2 separate regions of the Homo sapiens genome follow, and region 2 is linked to region 1. The links are contacts of gene promoters, found by promoter capture Hi-C in blood cells and fetal thymus (Javierre and others, 2016). All regions are on one chromosome and are shown on one strand. The core of a region is centred on a gene start or on the middle of the fragment in contact, and the rest is flanking DNA. Distances in the headings are between cores, read along the strand shown. Region 1 has its middle 5.9 kb from the start of ATP6V0C. Region 2 holds the start of ECI1 (enoyl-CoA delta isomerase 1).

The links. Contacts are between HindIII fragments. The CHiCAGO score rates a contact against its expected background, and 5 or more counts as called.
Region 2: a contact is called between the fragment with the promoter of ECI1 here and a fragment that was not itself captured in region 1, in 2 of 17 cell types (endothelial precursors and erythroblasts). The highest score is 7.9, in endothelial precursors.

What each region holds. Positions count from the first base shown.
Region 1 is chr16:2,505,975-2,510,153 of GRCh38, reverse strand. No RefSeq gene overlaps it. Among named protein-coding and RNA genes, the nearest start is that of ATP6V0C, 5.9 kb to the left of the region's middle. RefSeq lists enhancers at 78-147, 208-317, 1,964-2,464, 2,465-2,965. The HindIII fragment of the contact is 1,938 bases long and covers 884-2,821 here.
Region 2 is chr16:2,248,666-2,252,844 of GRCh38, reverse strand. It overlaps ECI1 (enoyl-CoA delta isomerase 1), which reads left to right and starts at 1,258. Exons shown (of 7, transcript NM_001919.4): 1 at 1,258-1,330; 2 at 1,416-1,529. The coding sequence starts at 1,279. LOC107984839 (a long non-coding RNA gene) reads right to left here and starts at 1,175. Exons shown (of 2, transcript XR_001752052.2): 1 at 852-1,175. RefSeq lists enhancers at 807-866, 1,797-1,926 and a silencer at 1,117-1,586. The HindIII fragment of the contact is 15,979 bases long and covers 1-4,179 here.

The sequences.
Region 1 (4,179 bases), core at 603-3,102:
CTGGCGTGAAACCACAAGTCACGAGCCCCTGGCCTGTCACTGCTACAGCAGCGGGGATTTCCAGGAACTGGGGGAGGGGCTTTGAGAAACTCAGGTCAGAGACCCCAACAGAAGCCGTAGAGAAATGTAGGGTGGGCTTCTGCAGGAGGGACCAGCAGCATTTTGCAGAGACCCCGGCAAGGGTAGGGGAGGATGGGGATAAAGAGACAAGGAATAAAGTCCCAAGAGTGACTGGGGAGATCAACTTCTCCGGAAGAAGCCATCACAAAGGGCTGGGGGGCAGCCTCATCTGCAGATGACAGTGTCCCTGCAGGCACCTGCTCCTGGAGACAGCTATCCTTCTGAGTTGCCCTGAGGACACACCCAGAGGGGCACAATGCTGGGAGATGGCACTGGGCACTCTTGACCTGCTTCCAGGAGAGCCATGTGTGGCCCCAGCAGGGCCGGAGGAAATGGGCCAAGAACACAGGTGTACCATCAGGGGTATGACCAAAGGTGCTTTATTTTCTTATCATTAAAAGTTAAGGCTTAAACAATGATACAGTGAAGTTTTTTGTTTTTTGTTTTTTGTTTTTGAGATGGAGTCTCACTCTGTCACCCAGGCTGGATTGCAGTGGCGCAATCTCAGCTCACCGCAAGCTCTGCCTCCCATGTTTAAATAAAATAAAATGCCAGAGGTAAAGACAACGTGGTGCAAGTAGGACTCGGCACCGTACAAGCTGCTTGGTGCAAGGAGGCTCCCCAAAGTCGAGGGCGGCAGGGGAGGTGGAGCCCTGAGCTGCTCCCGCTGGACAGCAGGCACTGAGGGGGCAAGAGGTTGGAGGCAGACGACTGCAATGACCCCAAGGACAGGGCAGCTCCCCCTTCTCGCTCACCCCAAGCTTTCAGGGTTGATGGAAAAGGGCCTGAGTGGGCCCTCCTCTTTGAGGACCCAGTGGGGTGGGCAGGGAGTCCAGCCGGCCCTGACCACTAGGCAGCAGTGTTCGGCGTTTCTTCTGCAGGCAGGTGGGCAGGTGGAGGACCCCATTGGCTCACAGGTGCTATAGTAGCCATTGGGTTTTTTTGGACACAAACTTCCAAATGACCAGGGCCGGGGGCTGCACCTGCACCACGACCAGGTTTTTCAGAACGGGTGTCAGATAAACGCTCAGCCCTAGGCAGCCTGGACCCCATGTCTGGTTTCAGGGTGCACCCTGAAGGCCAACACGGCCTCCTCACACTCCACCCAGGGGGTCAGGGCTCACCGCCGCAGCCCTTGCCCGCCTCAGACCCTGATCCATTCATTCAGTTCCCTGAGCACCTACTATTGTGCCAGGTGCTGAGTGAGGCCCCTGCCAGACAAAGACAAGTTAGAGTCCCTACCCTCAAGACCTGGCAGCCTACCAGGGAGCAGTAGCGTCCCCAACGGTACAGCCAATGCCGCACCAGAAGTGTGGTTCCTAGAAGCAGGGGGGACAAGGGAAGGAGGTGCTGGGACTAGCTCGGTGGGTCGCAGAAGAGGTGATCTCTGAATTAGGACTTGAAAGATGAAGAGAGGGCATAGAGCAGGGGAGAAACATGATCCAGTCTGTATTTAAGTAAGTCACAGACTGGTCGGGCACATGGCTCACACCTGTAATCCCAGCACTTTGTGAGGCCAAAGTGGGCGGATCACCTATGGTCAGGAGTTGGAGACCAGCCTGGCCGACATGGTGAAATCCCGTCTGTACTAAAAATGCAAAAATTAGCCGGGTGTGGTGGCGGGTGCCTGTAATCCCAGCTACTAGGGAGGCTGAGGCAGGATAATCGCTTGAACCCGGGACGGGGAGGTTGCAGTGAGCAGAGATCATGCCACTGCACTCCAGCCTGGGTGACAGAGCAAGACTCCATCTCAAAAAAACAAAAACATGAAAATGAAACCCAAAGTCATAAGATAGAGAGGCATGGGGAGCAGCTGCTTGCTGGGGCCAGGTTTTCCTTTAGGAGTGGGGAAATGCCATGGAACTGGAGGTGGTGGTTCCACAACATGCTCATTCATGCAACCACCACCTCTGTCTGGGGTCGTTCAAATGGTTGGATAGTATGTCAATTTCACTTCAATTTTTTTAAAAGAAAAATGAAACAGTTTCATGGCAGGCTAGAGGGAAGACTGTGCCCTGGACACCTGCCACAGACTAGGCCCGGAAAGCAGCCTGAGGGAAGGCTGCTGGTAGAGGCGGCAGGAAGGGAGGGGGCGGCACTGCCTGGCCAAGCTCTGGGCAGACACCAGCCCCACAGTGAGCTGGCCTGCAGGAGGAAGCAGCCCTGCGCCCCACCTCCCAGGCCAGAGCGCTCTGCACGCCCCGCTCAGGGACAATCTTGCCCAATTCTGGCCTGAGTGTGTGTCCTAATGTCAAGCACAAGACAGTCCGAGCACTTACAGTAAGTGCAAGAGTTACTGCAGGGAGCGTGGCGGGTGTGGGAAGGGGGTGTCCCGCCACCACAGGCCCCAGGAGCACACCTGGAGAATCTCTGATCACCCTGGACGCACAGCAGCAGCGCACACCAACCCACAGGGGCTTCAGTTCATTCTGCAGTGCTAGGCACTCCTGCCCCTTGAGACTGACAGTCTTTAGGACAGGGGGTGGGGAGACCAGCCAACACCTGTCTCAGGTGCTGTGAAGCTAGAACGCGGACCCGGCCTCAGCGGGGAGCTCAGGGAAATCCTGGGAGGGACACTAGGGCCCAGGCATGAGGAGTGGCAAATAGCACGCGCAAAGGCCGGGAAACAGAGGCTTTCAGTTCAGAGGAACTGAAAGAAACCTGGTGCCAGAGAGCCTGTGGCTGTGTTGGGGGCCAAGCTTCCTGCCAGGCTAGCAGACCAGGAGGCCTCTCAGACCCGGGACAGGTGCTGCCCCAACAGTCCCCTGAAGGTACTGAAGGAAGGTGTTCAGAGGAGCAAAGAAAGAGGGCTTGGCAGGAAGGGGCCACCCCCGTGGCCAGTCTGGGGAAGAGGAACCCAGGAGCATAGAGTGGGCAGAGGCAGCTCACGTGACGGCAGGCAGAGGCTCCACAGCAGCTGCAGGGAGGGCCCCCAGCAGCCTCGGTCTCACTGGAGGAACTGGACAGGGAGGGGGCATCTGTGCAGGGCTCAAAAGAAAAAAGGCATTCTATTTTTCTTTGTATTATACCGATCCACAATTAAACACAAGGTACTAAAAAGACGTGGCCGGGCACGGTGGCTCACCCCTATAATCCCAGCACTTTGGGAGGCCGAGGCAGGCGGATAACTTGAGGCCAGGAGTTAGGGACCAGCCCGGCCAACATGGTGAAATCCGGTCTCTACTGAAAATACAAAAATTAGCCGGACATGGTGGCAGGTGCCTGTAATCCCAGCTACTCAGGAGGCTGAGGCAGGAGGATACCTCAAACCTGGAAGTTGGAAGTTGCAGTGAGCCAAGATCGCACCACCACATTCCAGGCTGGGCGATACAGCAAGACTCCGTCTCAAACAAAAAAAAAGACATTCATTAATATTGACGTGGCCAGGCGCGGTGGCTCACGCCTGTAATCCCAGCACTTTGCGAGGCCGAGGCGGGTGGATCACGAGGTCAGGAGATAATTCCATCCTAGCTAACAGGGTGAAACCCCGTCTCTACTAAAAATACAAAAAAATTAGCCGGGCGTGGTGGCAGGTGCCTGTAGTCCCAGCTACTCGGGAGGCTGAGGCAGGAGAATGGTGTGAACCCAGGAGGTGGGGCTTGCAGTGAGCCGAGATTGAACCACTGCAGTCCAGCCTAGGTGGCAGAGTGAGAGTCCATCTCAAAAAAAAAAAAATTATATATATATATATATATATATAGAGAGAGAGAGAGAGAGAGAGAGAGAGAGAGACGCAAACTTTCAAAGGAAATACTCATTTTGAAATTTTGAATGAGAAAGGTTGAGTTTGTTTTTTGATACTCGTGTTTTACACACGACAGGGGTTCTTCACTATTTTTTTGTGGAGATGGAGTCTCCCTGTGCTGCCCAGGCTGCTCTCAAACTCCTGGCCTCAAACAATCCACCCACCTCAGCCTCCTAAAGTCTTGGGATTACGGGTGTGAGCCACCACACCCGGCCTTGACAGGGATTCCTGATGAAACGTCTGACACTGATTCTTCATGGTGACTCCTCTAAGTCTCCCTAAGACTTTGCTGAGTGTAGCTGTCCACACAGCAG
Region 2 (4,179 bases), core at 9-2,508, 260 kb after region 1:
CTTCTTCAGTGTCCAGAGTAGCAGGGGCTAATTTTTTTTTAATTTTTTAATTTTTTTTTTGAGACAGTCTCTGTTGCCTGGGTTGGAGTGCAGTGGCGCAATATTGGCTCACTACAACCTCTGCCTCCTGGGTTCAAGTGATTTTCCTGCCTCAGCCTCCTGAGTAGCTGGAATTACAGGCACCTGCCACCATGCCCAGCTAATTTTTTGTATTTCTAGTAGAGACGGCGTTTCATCATATTGGCCCGGCTGGTCTCAAACTCCTGACCTCATGATTTGCCCACCTTGGCCCCCAAAGTGCTGGGATTACAGGCATGAGCCACCGCGCCCAGCAGCAGGAGCTAATTTTTAAGAATTTTTTGTAGCAACAAGTTGTTGCTATGTTACCCAGCTGGTCCTGAGTCACTGGGGTTACAGGTGTGTGTCACCATGCCAGGCTTGCTTCCTCCTCCGTTAAGTGGCCATTTTTCCACCTCAAAAATTGGTTTGGGACACAAGGAAGAATTGGAAATGCTTAAGATGAGAACAAAAGTTGAGACCACCCAACACAGCTGGGACCTTACTGCCCAGTGCTCCCAGTGGTCTGACCAAAACCCCACACCAGACAGTACAAAGGCCCACTCCCGAGCTGCCGCTTACGGCCCAGCGGGAACAGACTGTATTCTTATCTTTCGGCATTTCTCTGCAAATAAAAAGGTGCCACTGCGGTCCGGCCTTTGTGCACTTGCCCTTGTGCTGAGCAAGGCGGGTGGCCTGTTCTTACCGCTGGGTTCTGCTGCCCCCACCCCCATTTCGGTGACTAAACCTGCAGCTCTGATCCTGTTCCCAAAGGGGCAGGAGGCCGGGCTCACCCCAGGCAGCCCCTGGCCTCCCTGACGGCCCCCTCGGGAGGGGTTCCGTGCTTTGATCGCCTTTCCAGCGCCGATACTGCAGTAGCTGGGCCCGGCCGAGAGCTCGCGGTCACGAACACCGGCAGCCTCTTGCCTACAGTGTCCCGCGCTGTAGAAGAGCCTGCCCTGGCGCTGAGCTGGTCGTGGCTGCTTCAGCAGTGGGCCTGCGCCTCCTTGTAGGCCAGCCCTGGCCCAGATCCAGGTGCCTGCCCCGGAAGCGCGCGGCTGCCCGGGGTGAAGCCGGAGGGCGGCGAGCGGCTGTTTCGGCCGGTAGGTGGAGGCGTTGACCAGCCTCTGGGAACGGGGCGGGACCTAGTTGGGGGGGCTCCGCCCCCTCCCCAGGAGGCGAGCTCAGCCCGCGACCTTTATCCCGCGCGTTGCGGTCAAGATGGCGCTGGTGGCTTCTGTGCGAGTCCCGGCGCGCGTTCTGCTCCGCGCGGGTGCGAAACCCGGGGTGGGCAGGGATCGGGCCGGGGCCGGGGCCAGGACCGGGAACTAACGGGCTCCCCCACGCTGCCTTCGCAGGGGCCCGGCTCCCGGGCGCGGCCCTCGGGCGGACGGAGCGGGCGGCCGGCGGCGGAGACGGCGCGCGGCGCTTCGGGAGCCAGCGGGTGCTGGTGGAGCCGGACGCGGGCGCAGGTGAGCGGGCGGCGCCGAGGGAGGGCGGGCGTGGGGTCAGGACCCGCGGGGGTCCGCGCTCGCGGGGTGCTGTCGGAGAACCACGTCTGTCGACGCTCGGTTTGTGTTTAGAACCCAAGTTTCGAAACAGAACCTTGCCGCTCTACCTGGGTTCGTTCGTCATGAGATAAAAGTTTCTGTTTTTAAAGTTGGCGGAGGCCGGGCGCGGTGGCTCACGCCTGTAATCCTAGCACTTTAAGAGGCAGAGGCGGGCGGATCACCTGAGGTCAGGAGTTCGAGATCAGCCTGGCCAACATGATGAAACCCTATCTGTACTGAAAAATACAAAAGAAAAAAATTAGCTGGGCGTGGTGGTGCGTGCCTATGCCTGGGAGGCTGAGGCAGAAGAATCGCTGGAATCTGGGAGGTGGAGGCTGCAGTGAGCCGAGATTGTGCCACTGCACTCCAGCTTGGGCCACAGAGCAAGATTCCGTCTCAAAATAAATAAATAAATAAAAATAAAGTTGGCGGGGATATGAGCTGTTATCTAAGTTATTCAATTGGAAGTGGAAAAGAATTGGAATCTTTTGGAATAAAATTACGTTTGTTAACACTCCCATGTGGCACAGAACCTCGTACCTACCCGCCCGTCAGAACCCTTGGTAAAACCCACTGGAAAGGATAGAAAAAGTACTTTTGGAAGAGAAGCCTGTGCGCTCCCTCCAGACAGGAGGCCGAGCTGAGGGCACCGAGAGGGCACGCCTAGGCGCCAGCAGTTCTGCTTCCAGGACATGCTGACCTGGACCTCCCGGTGCAGCAGTCCCTGCTGTGGCTCCTGAGAGGAGGCCCTCCCCCTCCGCAAGTAAGTCACAGCCCCTGCCCTCCCCAACCCCCCAGACTCAGGGCTGTGCCCAACTTTGCACAGCTTCAGGACTCCAGGCTCCTGGTGCCTCTGAACTTGGTTCCGTCCTCTCTGTCTGGGCTGAGGGAGCTGCCTGGGCTCTCTCTACAAACTTGAGAGGGACAAACTAAGACCAACTTCAAACTGACTTTTTTTTTTTTTTTTTTTTTTTTTGGAGATGTAGTCTTGCTCTCCAGTCGCCAGACTGGAGTGCAGTGGCGCAATCTCCGATCACTGCAACCTGTGCCTCCTGGGTTCAAGCGATTCTCCCTCCTCAGCCTCCCAAATAGCTGGGATTACAGGGACCCACCACTATGCCCACTAATTTTTGTAAAAACTGAGTTTCTGAAGGGATCATTTCTGTAGCATATTTGAATATATCTCAACAAAATGCAAAAAAAAAAATTATTATTTTTTTTTTTTTGAGACAGAGGCTCCCTCTGTCACCCAGGCTGGCGTGCAATGGCGCGGTTCCGGCTCACTGCAATCTCAGTCAGGCCTGACTTTCTGACTCCAAACTCTACTTTGTCTTTTTTTTTTTTTTTTTTTTTTTTTTTTTGAGACGGAGTCTTGCTCTGTCGCCAGGCTGGAGTGCAGTGGCACGATCTCCGCTCACTGCAAGCTCCGCCTCCCGGGTTCACACCATTCTTCTACCTCAGCCGCCCAAGTAGCTGGGACTACAGGCGCCCGCCACCACGCCCGGCTAATTTTTTTTTTTTGGTATTTTTAGTGGAGACGGGGTTTCACCATGTTAGCCAGGATGGTCTTGATCTCCTGACCTCGTGATCCACCCGCCTCGGCCTCCCAAAGTGCTGGGATTACAGGCGTGAGCCACCGCGCCCGGCTTACGTTGTCTTTTTATATGGTAAAGTGGGGAGGCACTCGAGTAAAAAAATTGTCATTGTACGAACACTTTTCCTTTTTTACCGGAGGTAATGTGTGTGTGTGTGTACATAAAAATCTTTAAAATATGCCTCACATTTACCATTCTAGCCATTTTGCAATGTACAACCCCGTGGCCGTAAGTATATTCACAATGTGTAGTCCACACTACCCATTCCAATACCTTAAGATAACATGTTTTTGAGTCCGGGCCCGGTGGCTCCCACCTGTAATCCCAGCACTTTGGGAGGCCAGGGTGCGCGGATCACGAGGTCAGGAGATTGAGACCATTCTGGCTAACACGGTGAAACCCCATCTCTACTAAAAAATACAAAAAAAAATTAGCCGGGCGTGGTGGCGGGCACCTGTAGTCCCAGCTACTTGGGAGGCTGAGGCAGGAGAATGGTGTGAACCCCGGAGGTGGAGCTTGCAGTAAGCCGAGATCGCGCCACTGCACTCCAGCCTGGGCAACAGAGCAAGAATCTGTCTCAAAAATAAATTAATTAATTAAATAAAATAAATAAATAAATAAATAGGAATGACAACCACATGGATGAACCTTGAACACATGATACTAAGTGGACAAAGCCGACAACAAAGCCCGGCGGTATCCCAGTGATATGGAATATGGCTGGAGCAGGAAAACCGCAGACACAGAACGCAGACTGGCGGCTTCCAGGGGCTAGGGGTGGGATGAGGAGCAACTGCTCATGGGGACAGGGATTCCTTTTGGGACAATGAAAAGGTTCTGGAACTAGGCAGCGGCGATAGTTGCACAACACAGTCAGTATACTGAATTGTGTAAGTGCCTGACTTGTTTACTTAAAAATGGCTAATTTAGGCTGGGCACAGTGGCTCATACCTATAATCACATCACTTTGGGAGGCC